5 separate regions of the Homo sapiens genome follow, and regions 2, 3, 4 and 5 are each linked to region 1. Evidence: promoter capture Hi-C in 16 types of primary human blood cells and fetal thymus (Javierre and others, 2016). All regions are on one chromosome and are shown on one strand. The core of a region is centred on a gene start or on the middle of the fragment in contact, and the rest is flanking DNA. Distances in the headings are between cores, read along the strand shown.

Region 1 (2,700 bases), core at 95-2,594:
CTTTTGCCTTCTCGCCTTCTCATCTCTGCCTCCTAAGCCTCATCCTTGAAAGTCTGGACCTTCCTGACAGGTACTGATCCCTCGTCATGTTGTCCAGGATATTGTCACTCCCCGAAACACCCTCTTCCAGTCCTTCACGCCTTGATAAATATCTATTTGTCCTTCAAAAGGCTCATCGAGCATTATTTTGGTGGGTTTCCTTTGGTTCTCCTCCCTCCAGCTTAATAGCCTTCTCATTTATATTACTTTTATTCTATACATCAAATTAAATCGGCCTTATTTAGTAGCTTTAATCATCTTTTCTACTAGAATGAACTTCTTAATGGCTTTCATTCTCTCTTGTGTTGCCAAGGCCTGGCAGACTACCTAGAACAAAACATATGAACTGAACTGATTTAGGCTGTACTGCGGATGTCTCTAAAAGGAAGAATAGCACTGAGGGTATCTCTAGAAGAAATAATTGGTTTTTGTTTGTTCGTTTTTTTTTGTTGTTTTGTTTTGTTTTGTTTTTGTTTTTTTGAGATGGAGCCTCGCTCTGTCACCCAGGCTTGACTGCAGTGACGCAATCTCAGCTCACGCAACCTCCGCTTCCCGGGTTCAAGCAATTCTCTGCCTCAGTCTCCCAAATAGCTGGGATTACAGGCGCTCGCCACCACACCTGGCTAATTTTTGTATTTCTAGTAGAGACGGGGTTTCACCATCTTGGCCAGGCTGGTTTTGAACTCCCAACCTTGTGATCCGCCCACATCGGCCTCCCAAAGTGCTAGGATTACAGGTGTGAGCCACCACGCCCGGCCAAGAATTGTATATTTTTAGGGGATCAGAACACTTAGAATTAGTGGGACATTATTGCTAGGGTTAAGATAGCATTTCAGTATTTCTGGTATAGAGGATGTTGGCTATCCACTGTCTATTCCAGTAAATTTCCTCACCATAATATCTCTCTATCTCTGTCTGTCTGTCTTCTCTCTCTTGCACACATGAGAGAGAACTATTACCTGCCGGGTAAATAGTGGGAGAATTAGGACCTACTGTGAATCGTCTGCCTGGGGCCCAACCTGTAACATCACAAGAAGAAAAACATCTGTACTTCCTTATGAGGTTCTTTTCAATGTCCATTTTAGTTCAAATGTCCTCATAACATAAAGGGAGGGGGAAGTTCAGAGACACATCATAGAATATTCATCACATTGCTGGCATTCTGGGAAGAATCAGGCTGGTTAAGTGACTCCCAGGCTGCTCTTACCTATCCAGAGCCTAGAGCATCTAGATTTTGATTGGACCATTGCCAGAACTCATTAGCATAGTGTACCCTGACCTGGAATAGGGAACAGCGTCTGCTCAGAAAATGACCAGAGCCTGCTGGGACTTGAACCAGCAGTAAGATTTTCACGACACAGTGCTGTCTGCTTCTCCGTAAGAAGTTAGAAGGTAAGAAAGCCAGAAATCCCGTGGAGAGGCAAATGTAAGGGATGTGGCAACGACCACTCTATTCCTACAGGGTTTCATTTGTTCTAGTTCATTTTTCTGTAGAAATGATGAAAATTGAATATACTTTGCGCAAGTTGCTTTAAAAAAAGGAGTCTTGACAAGTGTAGTTTTTCAATCCTAGAAGAGGAAAACAGAGTTTACTTAAGGGCTGTAAAATGGTTTTTTCTTCTTTTCTATGTTTTGTTCTTAACTTTTAGGGAAATATTAAATTAATGCTCATTCGCTTAGCAAATGTTAATATCGAGAGAAAAATCTAAAATGTAACATAGTTGTTCTGTAATAAAATTTTCTTTATTATTCTTCCCTTAATTTAAAAACAAAATAATTATGTCTATATTGCCTAGGCTTTATAACAATGTTTTTGATTTTTGAAAATATGAATCTTATTTGCCAAGGTTTTTAAAAAGTAGATCTATTCCAATTAGTTATAACAAAATTTGCACCATCAGAGACAATATCGTTACTGTTCAGGGTAAGTACACGGAACTGCTGCTTGGTATCTGCATCTTCTATACCTGTTATTTAAGTCCTTTGAATTAGAGTCAATTTGCGGCATCATTTCTTCAGTAACACAATGTTTCTTTCCTAAACATAGAATTTTACTTAAAATCCATGAGGATTTAGTCTTGAAAATCAACATTCAGTTGGGGAACAGAAACTTCGTGCTCTGCAACCACTAGGTTGTAGCTCAGTATGGGTATGTGGAACAGACAGGAAGAGACTCTGATTAGCTTGTCATTTAATGGTCAAGAACTTTATTTATAAAGACTATACTTTCAGGGATCATTTCTATAGTTTGTTACTAGAGAAATTTCTCTGGACATCTAGAGCACACACAAAAAAGAAAAAAGGAACTTCATTCTTATGTTCAGGTCAACGGTCTTTTATATACATACACTTTCCCTTGGTAGAGTTCAGTGATTGACAAGTATTAGGATTATATAACACTAAATAACTAAAGAACAGGCCGGGCACAGTGGCTCATGCCTGTAATCCCAGCACTTTGGGAGACAGAGACGTATGGATCACCTGAGGAAAGGAGTTCAAGACCGGCCTGGTCAACATGGTGAAACCCCATCTCTACTGAAAATACAAAAATTAGCTGGGTGTGGTGGTGCGTGCCTGTAATCCCAGCTACTTGGGAGGCTGAGGTAAAAGAATCACTGGAGCCCCAGAGGTGGAGGCTATGGTGAGCTGAGATTGCGCCAC
Region 2 (2,700 bases), core at 130-2,629, 590 kb before region 1:
GTGCTGCTTCCTCCTCTTCTCATGGCTAACTCTTTCTCATGATTTAGGGTTCAGCTCAACTGTTACTTCTTCATGGAGGCTGATGCCTCCCAGTCTTCATCTTAAAAGTGTGCAGCTTTTATCACCGTCTATAACTATGTTACTTAATCATCTGTTTATTATTCACCGTGTGCTACAGAAGATGATCTTGATGAGAAGAAACTGCATGTTACCCAACAGTTTCTGGGTCATAGGCATGCATCAGGTAACTGATGAATGAATGAATGAATGAATGAATGAATGAATACATTAATCTCCAAGATTCCTTCAGTTTACGATATTCTGCTTGACTATCTAGTCCCTCAAAAGGCATTACCTTTCCCCTGTATTATCTCAAGCACCCTATTATAACTTTTTGAGTTAGTAGCATGTTCACCAAGGCTAATCCTCTTTAGCATGTTAGCCAGCTATGATGGCCACATTTTCACATAACAAGATGATTTCACCAAGTTAAAAACTTCTTTGGGATCTATTCGTAAAAGTATATATAAGAGTTTACATTTCTAACAATATAGAAAAATGTAGAGCCTCCATTATAAAACATCTAGAAATGTTGGAAAAAAATATACAAAACATACTTTTAAAAGCACTGACTTTATAAGATAGTACAAGAAATGTTCAGGAGCTAAAATTGAAACAGGTCACAAACCAGAGCAGTACAGAGACAGGAAGCCTGCGGTTGTCCTGGGAGGGAAGTGGGAGACAGGAAGGGGGCGCCATCGCACTAGCTCAGAGCCAATGCATGCGTGGAGATGGCAGATGAGGTCCTGGCTCCACACATATATAAGGCTGGGAGCTGGAACTGAAACACCAGTAGGGGACTCTTGAAGGACTCTATTTTCAGTAATAGAGAGGTCCTTAAATAAATCCACCCACTGACAGGGAGATGACAAGGTATTTTGTTTATTTCAGTCTGGGTTCTGAGTGAGGAAAAAGAAAGTCTGCCCTGAGTGTTCCTGATCAAGACCTGCCCCCACGTGGATTCAGGGCTTATCTTTTATAGCTCAAGAACTCTCAATCAAGCAATTCATGTAAAAATGAAGCCTGGTTTTCTACCCATGGGGCATTCGACGGAGGCAGTTGTAAAACTTTGCTGCAGAATCACACCTTCGATCCAGGCCTCACAGGATCCTCACAGTTAAAGGCTCAGTGTTGATAAATTCGCAATCTATATTTATGAAACACTCAAGCTACCAGGAGCAAGAGGCAGCAGATACCACAAACAGCATGACTGGATACCTAGGAATTTCCGGTGAGTCAGACATAGGCAATAAAACAGGTATCTTTAGAATGATTAAAGACGTAACACAATAAAAAAAAAAAGGAGAAAAATGCAACTGCAAAGTTGACGGAATAAACAAACACAGTGCTTAGAAAAGAAAAGTATATTCATTGAAGCTGAAAACTTAATTGACGCATTAGAAAGAGCAAAGGAAGCTGGAAGATAACATTAGCTGGAATAGCATTAGTTGGAATATGCAACTGGAGTAAGCATTAGCAAACTGGAAGATAGCTCTGAGCATGAATTCCAAAGAGATTGAGACAAAAAACATGAATAAAAAGGGAGAGATGTAGAGGATAAAATGAAAAGATGTCCAGTAAAAGTTCCAGAAGGAAAACATGGAAAAAATGAGGAAGAGGCAAAATTTGAAGATGCAATGACTAAATTGTCTAAAATTTTTGAAACATAAATTGTCTGATTCACAAAGTTTAAAAAGTCCTGATCAAGAAAAATAAAAATAAGTTCATTCCTAGTGTCAACAACAAAACAAAATGTAATGAAACAACAAAATGTCAAAGACAAAGATCTTCATAAGCAAAAAGTCAGTTAACCAAAATGAACAATAATTACATTGATATAAGCAACACTGTAAGTGTACTAATATCTTTGAGATGCATAGTTATCAAACTAAAGTTCTATGCCCAACTAAACCATCATTAAATAATAATAACAATTGAGAGTGCACCCCTAAAGGACCCTACTAGTAGATGCAATTCAGGAAGAACAAGGCTGACCTCAGAAGGAAGGAGTGAGATGCAGAAAGGTAGAGTAGGCAAGGAAATTAGTAAAATGTAAATAAATCTAAATAGATCTTGACTAAAGTTCTAGTCCAACTAAACCATCATTAAAATAATAATAATTGAGAGTACACCCCTAAAGGACCCTACTAGTGGATGCAATTCAGGAAAAACAAAGTTGAACTCAGAAGGAAGGAGTGAAACCGGGCGTGGTGGCTCACGCCTGTAATCCCAGCACTTTGGGAGGCCAAGGCAGGCAGATCACAAGGTCAGGAGTTTGAGACCAGACTGACAAATATGGTGAAACCCCATCTCTACTAAAGTAAATACAAAAATTAGCAGGGCGTGGTGGTGCGCGTCTGTAGTCCCAGCTACTCGGGAGGCTGAGGCAGAAGAATTGCTTGAACCCGGGAGGTGGAGGTTGCAGTGAGCCGAGATCGTGCCACTGCACTCCAGCTTGGGTGACAGAGTGAGACTCTTTCTCAAAAAAAAAAAAGGAAGGAGTGAGATGCAGAAAGGTATAGTAGGCAAGGATATTAGTAAAATGTAAATAAATCTAAATAGATCTTGATTATAAGCAGCAACATCATGATAGTGATTGATTTTGTGATTATACAATAGGATGGAATTAAAACAAAATGG
Region 3 (2,700 bases), core at 154-2,653, 530 kb before region 1:
CTTAATGCCATTGAACTGTATACTAAAAATGGTTAAAATGATAAATTTGTGATATGGATATTTTACCACTATAAAATTATAAGTATAATACATTCATAACCATTAAAAAACACAATGGTCATAAAGAAACATTGGCAGGAAATAAATGCAAATGTTGATAATTCCTGTGATATGGAGGTAGAATTTCATCAAATATATTTTTTAGCTTCCAAACTTTCTCCACCATGGTTGTATTGTATTCCTAACCTGATAGCAGCAATTATTAGTAACTACAGTAATAATTATTAAGAATTATGGTATTAATAATTCCATTTTTCTTGACATGGCCTCAAAACATACATACATACATACATACATACATATAGGCTAACACTAAACTTTTTTTTATTTTTTTTTCGTATACTTTAAGTTCTGTGCAGAACGTGCAGTTTTGTTACATAGGTATACACATGCCGTGGTGGTTTGCTGCACCCATCAACCCGTCACCTACATTGGGCATTTCTCCTAATACTGTCCCTCCACTAGCCCCTCAACCCGACAGGCCCCGGTGTGTGATGTTCCTCTCCCTGTGTCCATGTGTTTTCATTGTTCAACTCCTACTTATGAGTGAGAACATGCAGTGTTAGGTTTTCTGTTCTTGTGAGAGTTTGCTGAGAATGATGGCTTCCAGCTTCATCCATGTCCCTGCAAAGGACATGAACTCATCCTTTTTTATGACTTCACAGTATTCCATGGTGTATATGTGCCACATTTTCTTTATCCAGTCTATCACTGATGGACATTTGGGCTCCAAGTTTTTACTATTGTGAATAGTGCCACAATAAACATACATGTGCATGTGTCTTTATATTAGAATGATTTATAATCCTTTGGGTATATACCCAGTAATGGGATTGCTAGGTCAAATGGTATTTCTAGTTCTAGATCCTTGAGGAATTGCCACACTGTCTTCCACAATGGTTGAACTAATTTACGCTCCCACCAACAGTGTAAAAGCATTCCTATTTTTCTACATCTTCTCCTGCATCTGTTGTTTCCTGACTTTTTAATGATTGCCATTCTAACTGGCATGAGATGGTATCTCATTGTGGTTTTGATTTGCATTTCTCTAATGACCAGTGATGATGAGCTTTTTTTCATATGTTTGTTGGTTGCATAAATGTCTTCTTTTGAGAAGTGTCTGTTCATATCCTTTGCCCAGTTTTTGACGGAGTTGTTTGTTGTTTTCTAGTAAATTTTTTAAGTTCTTTGTGGATTCTGGATATTAGCCCTTTGTCAGATGGATAGATTGTAAAAATTTTCTCCCATTCTGTAGGTTGCCTGTTCACTATGATGATAGTTTCTTTTGCTGTGCAGGTCTTTAGTTTAATTAGATCCCATTTGTCAATTTTGGCTTTTGTTGCCATTGCTTTTGGGATTAACACTAAACTTTGAATACAAAAGAATACATCATTAACTAGACTGCTGATTTTTAATAATGATAATTTAATGATGATATTGTAAAATTTTGTTTTGTTCTATTCAATCGCTCATTAATTGGGACTTAATTTTCAAGGAGCTGGAAATTAGACCAAAATCATCATATGGCTTGTTTTTATAAAGGATACGCTGATAACATACTATACTTTATGTAAAATGTGAACATTGAGGGAAGTAATGTGAAAGGCTCTTTATGAAAATAAGGCTAAACCCCAATAATTACTCCCTTAATCTCTTTATGGTCTCCCATTTTTTATGATTACTATGTATTTTTATTATCATTGATTCTATCTTAACATTGGTATTCTTCTTTTAAGGATACCAATGCTTTCTTCCTCCACAATTTTGGATTTAACCAAGTGTATTTATCCCTGGATATTTCCCTAAATTTAGTGATCAGTGCATTATACTCTATGAAACACTCCACTGAATCCTGCTAGGAGACAGTATTCTGGAATTCCAACCCCATTTCATAACAGCCACAATTCCTGTATTCTTGGGCAAATTGCTTTACTTTGCTTATGACTGACTTTGATGAATAATTAAGACAAAACTAAGAATTCCTATATGCATTTTCCAAGATTATTCTGTAGAATACTTGGGCCACATGACAGTCCCATAAAATTAAGTTTTAGGATCAAATATATGTGAAAAAAGACTGAGAATTTATCCTTGGCTTAGAGATCAACAATGCAGAATAGCACCTAAAGGCTCTGGGAAGTCTTTCACTAAAAAAGTAGTAATTTATCTGTTCTGATAAATATAAATATATATACACACATATATACATACATATATATATATATATATATCTGACTGCTGGATTCTTTAAAAAATTTATTATCAATTTTAACATAGCTTAGAACAAAGCGTTCTAAGAACATACTTTAGGAGACACTGATTTTACATAAATACAAGTTATTAATTCTAGAAAGAAAAAAAAGGCAAGAAGATCTTCTTGGTGGAGCAGAGAACTCCCTGTCATTGCAAAACCAGAAGTGGTTAGGTGGCTGCTTGCTGAGGATATTCTAGTCCAGTCTCCTACCCAAGGAAGTCACTTTTATAAAGGTGCTTCTAATTTCAAAATGGTATGACAATTAGAAAATGTGCCCTGATGGGAAGCCCTTCATGGCAAACTCAGTTGCCTTCATGACCAGGCAAGAAGAAGTAAAATCACTCAGGGCCTTGGTGCAGTACAAACCGTCGGTGGGTGATGGAAAC
Region 4 (2,700 bases), core at 179-2,678, 550 kb before region 1:
ATCCTAGTGCTTTCTTCTGACTTTTTTTACTATAAGTTCCTAGCAGTGGAACTGTTGTGCCAAAGAGTATTATTGGAAGGCTTATAATACACATTCCCAAATTGTCCTCCAGAAAGGTGTGCCTCAGCTTTCTATAGGAGCACTGGTTTCTGATACTCTCACCCTGGCTGGTATTGTCCAAATGCTTTTAATTTTACCAGTGGGAAGTGTGCTTAAATTCTGCTTGATGGTGGAAGGATAAAATTCATGCTGAGGGGTAAAATTCATGCTAATAATGTAGGATTTCATTTTTCTTTACTGAGAAAGGTATAAAATAACATAAAAACACCATGACAAGAAGAGAGAGATCATGGAAGAAAGGATAAGCTTTATCTGAACCTTTCATGGCACTTTTTCCTTTGAACAATGGGCCCTGCATTCTCATTTTGCTCTGGGCCCCACAGATTATGAAGATGGTCCTGTCTCTGCCTCTTCCTCTCCATCCTCACTGCTACTTCCACAGTTCAGGCTGAAATCTACCTCCAGGACAGGCTCAATAGCCTCCTTACCATCTCTCTGCCTCCCATCTTAGCACCCTTCCACCACAACACAGTCTCCAGTTTGCAAAAGGAATCTTTAAAAATGCAAAGTCTCCTAATGTCTTCTCTGCCGTGTGTAAACTACATAATACCATTTTAGTGACCTGCCCTCCAGCCTAGAAAGTCCTTGTAAGATCTAGCTTCTGCCCTGCTCCAGCCCTATTATTTTCCAGTGACTCCTGTGCCCACCCACAGAAGATTTTTCTCACTGCCTGTGCGTTCCACGCTCTCCTGAAGCTGGGTCCCAGCACTGCTCCTTTCTCTGCCTTAAGTGCTCACTCCATGGCACTGGCTCCACATTAGGAGCTCACCCTTCACGTCTCAGCTCAGGTGATCTTACCTGAATTGTCTTCTCAGATGGGCAGCATGCAACGTGCAATTTAAACTGTGCAAATGCCAGTTTTAAATACAATTATGAGCATTCGACTCGTGTGTAGAATCACCAAAATCACACAATTCGTATTTTGTGTCTTATCCTGGTGGGTGCCTGGAGCTGGCCAGAGAGACAACTGTAGGTCAGATTCAGGAAGGCTGGAAGAAAGAGAAGAGGGTCCCAAGGCACAGAGCTGGCTGAGAGAGCACTCCTGGGCACCACAACACTAGTGGGGCCAGTGCAGATTCCCGCAGCTGCCCAGGGGCCTCATCCCACAATGTGTAGCATGAGTGCGTTTGCTCTGTCAGTTGGCTTCTGGGCTCCCCCTCCCACCAGCCACTGAGTCAATGTGTTACCTCCATCAGGGGTGGGATCTGGAGAAGTCAAACCAGGTGGCTCCCTTCCCACTAGCCTAGAGCCTCAAACCCTGGCAGACAGGTAACTCCCAAGGATCTTCAACCTCTGTGTCAGTATGGGCTGGGTACTGGATGGGGTAGGAGGGGAGCGTGTTCCCACCAAGAGACAACTTCCAGCAGCCCCCCATGGACCTGCTAGCCTAGATCTGCTAGTCTGGGACAGGGACAGCAGCCACAGCTTGTGCCTGACCCATCTGGCCCTGAGCAGGAGGGTGAAGGCTGGGCAGGCAGGGCACTAGGAGGCACAGGAGGGAACAGCCCCAAACTCATCCACTGAAGACAGCGGGAGGTGGGATCATGCATGAATTTAGGCTCTTAGCCCCTGGCACATGCTCCATTGCCCCATTGAACTTGACTTACAAAGCAGAAATGTGAAGTAAACATTATTAAGAATTTCAAGATAACTGCAGAGCATTAAACCCCAAGTATGTAACCTTGCTGAGAGAGAGGCCCTGTCCAAGTGCACAGGTTGGATGCCCATGAAGCTGGCCCTGGACAGAGATAAGAGGTACTTAGGAGGTAAGAATGATAAGATGTCAGGCTTCATTGTGTATTATGTATTTAGTGGGAGGCACGAGGTCTGTGAAGAGAGAGGATCCTATGACAACCAGTAGTTTTCTGTCTTGGGTGACAGACGGATGCTGGTGCCATTACCCAGACAGGGAATGCAGGGAGGAAGAAGAGAGTTTCTGTGTTTGGCTCCTTCGGTTCAGTTTCTCTACTTGTCTGTTGTCTGAGTACACTTCCATATTCAATGGACAGTTGACTTTCAAAGAAAAGCAAAAGATTTCTGAATAATATGCAAGAGTTGAGCATGTAAAAAATTCCATGGAAATCTCTTGACCCAGACTGATAACTGAGTAATAGAAAAATTAAATTAAGCTATTCTTTAACTTACCACTAAAATTAAATTTTAGAGAATTTCCCAATGCTTTTATAAGGAAAGGAAAACATCTTGCCTTGTGTACCTCTCCTATTCCCTCAACATACTCAATAGAGACTTATTCAGGTTCAATGTCTGGGTCATAGTAATAAATTGGCTGAAAATAAAATTTCTGCTAAAATATTAAGCATGGAGATATTAATTCACAATGACTTAAGGCAAAAGTTTTCTGAAGCTTTCTGTGTTTTAAAAGTAAGCATATAAAACATGAAAGTAAACATATCATTCATTCATTCATTTATTCACTTAACAAATATTTGTACTGAGAACGTACTGTGTGCTAAGCTGGAGGTACAGAGCAAAACACATAGAGCACAGGCTGTTCTGGTACAAGAGCATTCTCGTGGTGGGAGATCTCAAAAAAAAAAAAACTGAATATATAAAAGTGGT
Region 5 (2,700 bases), core at 135-2,634, 570 kb before region 1:
TTGGGCACCCAGTTGAAGTCATAGAATCAGTGTCAGAGCATACACACCATTATCACAATCCAATATGAGGAACCTTTGTGGAGTGATGGAAATCTGAAATCTTTCAGTTCTTTACTTACCTGATCTCTTTGCAGCACTGGACATGGTCAACCAGTCTTCATTCCTAAAACCCTCCTCTACTGGTTCCTGAAAACTAAACTTTTCACCTTCCTCCTACCTCTGACCACCTCTTCCCAGGCTCCTTTGCAGGCTCTCCTTTATCTTTTTGTGCCTAAAATAGTTCTCCAGGTGTCTTTTCCCAGGTCCAATCTCCTGTGCATTGATGACTTCTAAATTTGTATCCCCAATCCCCCAAGTCCTTCTCATAGGCTGATGACCAACAGTCCAACGCATTTTTGGACATTTCCTCACAGATGCATTGAACTCACTAAAACGAAACTCTCCATCTTTTCGCTTTGCTTCTGTGCTCTCTGTTCCAAACCTGCTTTGGGTCATGTATTCCGGTCAATATGAACTACAACCATGCCCAAGTAGACACCCTATTCGAGTTGCTCTCTGTGATTTGCCCTTCGTTGAAGTCATCCTAATTAGTGCAGCCAATGTTCTGCCAAACAAGAGGAATTGCTTCTTGTAGAAAATGTAAAAATAAAAGAGAAGATTTCAATGCAAATGAAGAAGATTTAGTCATGACTGAAGAGCACAGGCTAGGAAAGCGCTGTCTGGTGGACCAAGACATTACCTTGGACACTAAACCATGAAGCGGGGCCTGAAAGGACTCCCTTTTACAGAAGACCTACAGGCTTCTCCCAGAAGATGGAATTAAGGCAAGCACGAAAACTTGGAGGCTACCTATTTACCAACCTTTTTAAAAAAAGTTTTAAAAAAATTATAATTTCTGCAGGATTCCTATGTGACCACAGTGCTAAGTGCTTTATATATATTATTTCATTATTGCTCACAATAGGGCTAGGCATGGTGGCTCACTCCTGTAATCCCAGCACTTTGGGAGGCTAAGGTGGGTGGCTCACTTGAGGTCAGGAGTTTGAGACCAGCCTGGCCAGCATGGTGAAATCCTGTCTCTGCTAAAAATACAAAAAAAAAAAAAAAAAAAGGCCAGATGTGATAGTGCACACCTGTAATTCCAGCTACTTAGATGACTGATGCACAAGAATTGCTTAAACCCAGGAGGCAGAGGTTGCAGTAAGCTGAGATCTCACCACTGCACTCCAGCCTGGGTGACAGAGTGAGACTCAGTCTCAAAACAAAAAAACAAAGAAACAAACAAAAAATTGCTTACAACAACCCTGTAATCTAAGTGTTGTTTGCTCCACTGTTTAGATAAGGACATTTGGGGTTAGGAGGTTATTTGCCCAAGGACAACCTAACTTGTCAATTCTACAGCTTGAATTCAAGTCTACCTGTAAAACCTGTAGCCTGATCCGTGACAGTAGCCAAAGCCTTTTTTTTTTGGTCACAAAGGTAGTCCAAAAAGTTATCTGATGATGCTACATCCCTCTGAGTTTTTTAGGCTGGGCTAAAAGCATCATTCTAACTGCCCTATAGTTTTTATTCTGTTTTATTGTAAAGCAATGATTCATACAGTTAGAACTACCCAGGGTTAAATTCCTTTTTGTATATATTAAGCACAAATAGCAAAGTGCTGGATAGCATAATTACTTTTGTACAAAAATATGTACTTTATAAATAGATAGTATTTTAGGATATTTGCTTTTTTATAATGGAATGTTGGGGATAAGAAGGGAATGAGGTTGCAGCTAATCCTATTGGTTTTGTACAGTTCTGTAAAGATTAAATTTATAAGTGGGTTAAGTGGATGGGGGGATCGTGGTCCATGTTTTGGCTTGTTTTTATACCTCTTTGGATTAAAAAAATCAATATTTATTACTTTAAAAACTACCTTTTAGAAGTCACTCTCAAACTATTTTTCTACAAAGAGCCTTTTCAATAAACATCTTAGGAAAGTGCAGAGGTTGAAGAGCATTTCATGAGGAAGTCTTCTTTCTGGCTTCTGATAAGGCATGTCATTTAAATGAACAATTCTGCAGGTCACCCTCCACCTGAAAAATTACTGAATGCTCCCAGAGTCCCATAAACAAAGATCTTCTTTGTCCTTGAGCCAAACCCATATGTGGTTAAAGACAAAGTCAGCTTGCTTTGAAGTTCAGAGAAAGAGTTGACTACAGTACTTCACCACTGAGAAACAATATGACCCTAGCTCACTCTTATGGACGGGGTGCCTTTCACCCTTTGCACCTGTCAAGGAAGACAGACTTTTTTATCTATTTTCTTAAAAGTGGCCATGCAGCTTTATAAAGGTGTTTGTGGAAGTACTTCAACTGAATTTATATTGGAATTTAGAAGATGTGAAGATAAAATACTTCACATAAGAAAAATACTATGTTTTCTTATTACTTATTAAGTAACGAGACATTTCACTGAAATACATAAGAAAAGTACGTTTTACTTGTATGTGGTCCTATTGCATATGTTGAATACCTTTTAATAGCTATTCTGAATATTAAGTTTCAAACCTTATCAGTCAAAGGATATAATTTATAAGAGTCCCCTTAAGTAGGACGTGGAGGTCAGATGTTGGGCAGGAAAGCAAACAAACACAGAAACTAACAAATTTTCACTATGCTTTCCAGGAAAGGGACATTTTATCAGAGTCCTGAAGGA

What was found. Contacts are between HindIII fragments. The CHiCAGO score rates a contact against its expected background, and 5 or more counts as called.
Region 2: a contact is called between a fragment that was not itself captured here and the fragment with the promoter of GCM1 in region 1, in 3 of 17 cell types (M0 macrophages, naive B cells and activated CD4 T cells). The highest score is 10.7, in M0 macrophages.
Region 3: a contact is called between a fragment that was not itself captured here and the fragment with the promoter of GCM1 in region 1, in 4 of 17 cell types (M2 macrophages, activated CD4 T cells, M1 macrophages and 1 more). The highest score is 6.0, in M2 macrophages.
Region 4: a fragment that was not itself captured here is called in contact with the fragment with the promoter of GCM1 in region 1 in 3 of 17 cell types (total B cells, M0 macrophages and M1 macrophages); the score reaches 9.1 in total B cells.
Region 5: a contact is called between a fragment that was not itself captured here and the fragment with the promoter of GCM1 in region 1, in 2 of 17 cell types (M0 macrophages and M2 macrophages). The highest score is 6.4, in M0 macrophages.

The regions. Positions count from the first base shown.
Region 1 is chr6:53,147,485-53,150,184 of GRCh38, reverse strand. It overlaps GCM1 (glial cells missing transcription factor 1), which reads left to right and starts at 1,344. Exons shown (of 6, transcript NM_003643.4): 1 at 1,344-1,431. It also overlaps the pseudogene LOC124901513. The HindIII fragment of the contact is 12,096 bases long and covers 1-2,700 here.
Region 2 is chr6:53,733,263-53,735,962 of GRCh38, reverse strand. The region is part of intron 1 of LOC124901334 (a long non-coding RNA gene); the gene reads right to left. Among named protein-coding and RNA genes, the nearest start is that of LRRC1, 60 kb to the left of the region's middle. RefSeq lists an enhancer at 561-1,760. The HindIII fragment of the contact is 5,249 bases long and covers 1-2,700 here.
Region 3 is chr6:53,674,543-53,677,242 of GRCh38, reverse strand. No RefSeq gene overlaps it. Among named protein-coding and RNA genes, the nearest start is that of KLHL31, 10 kb to the right of the region's middle. The HindIII fragment of the contact is 3,890 bases long and covers 1-2,700 here.
Region 4 is chr6:53,695,684-53,698,383 of GRCh38, reverse strand. No RefSeq gene overlaps it. Among named protein-coding and RNA genes, the nearest start is that of KLHL31, 31 kb to the right of the region's middle. The HindIII fragment of the contact is 2,119 bases long and covers 369-2,487 here.
Region 5 is chr6:53,714,552-53,717,251 of GRCh38, reverse strand. No RefSeq gene overlaps it. Among named protein-coding and RNA genes, the nearest start is that of KLHL31, 50 kb to the right of the region's middle. The HindIII fragment of the contact is 4,083 bases long and covers 1-2,700 here.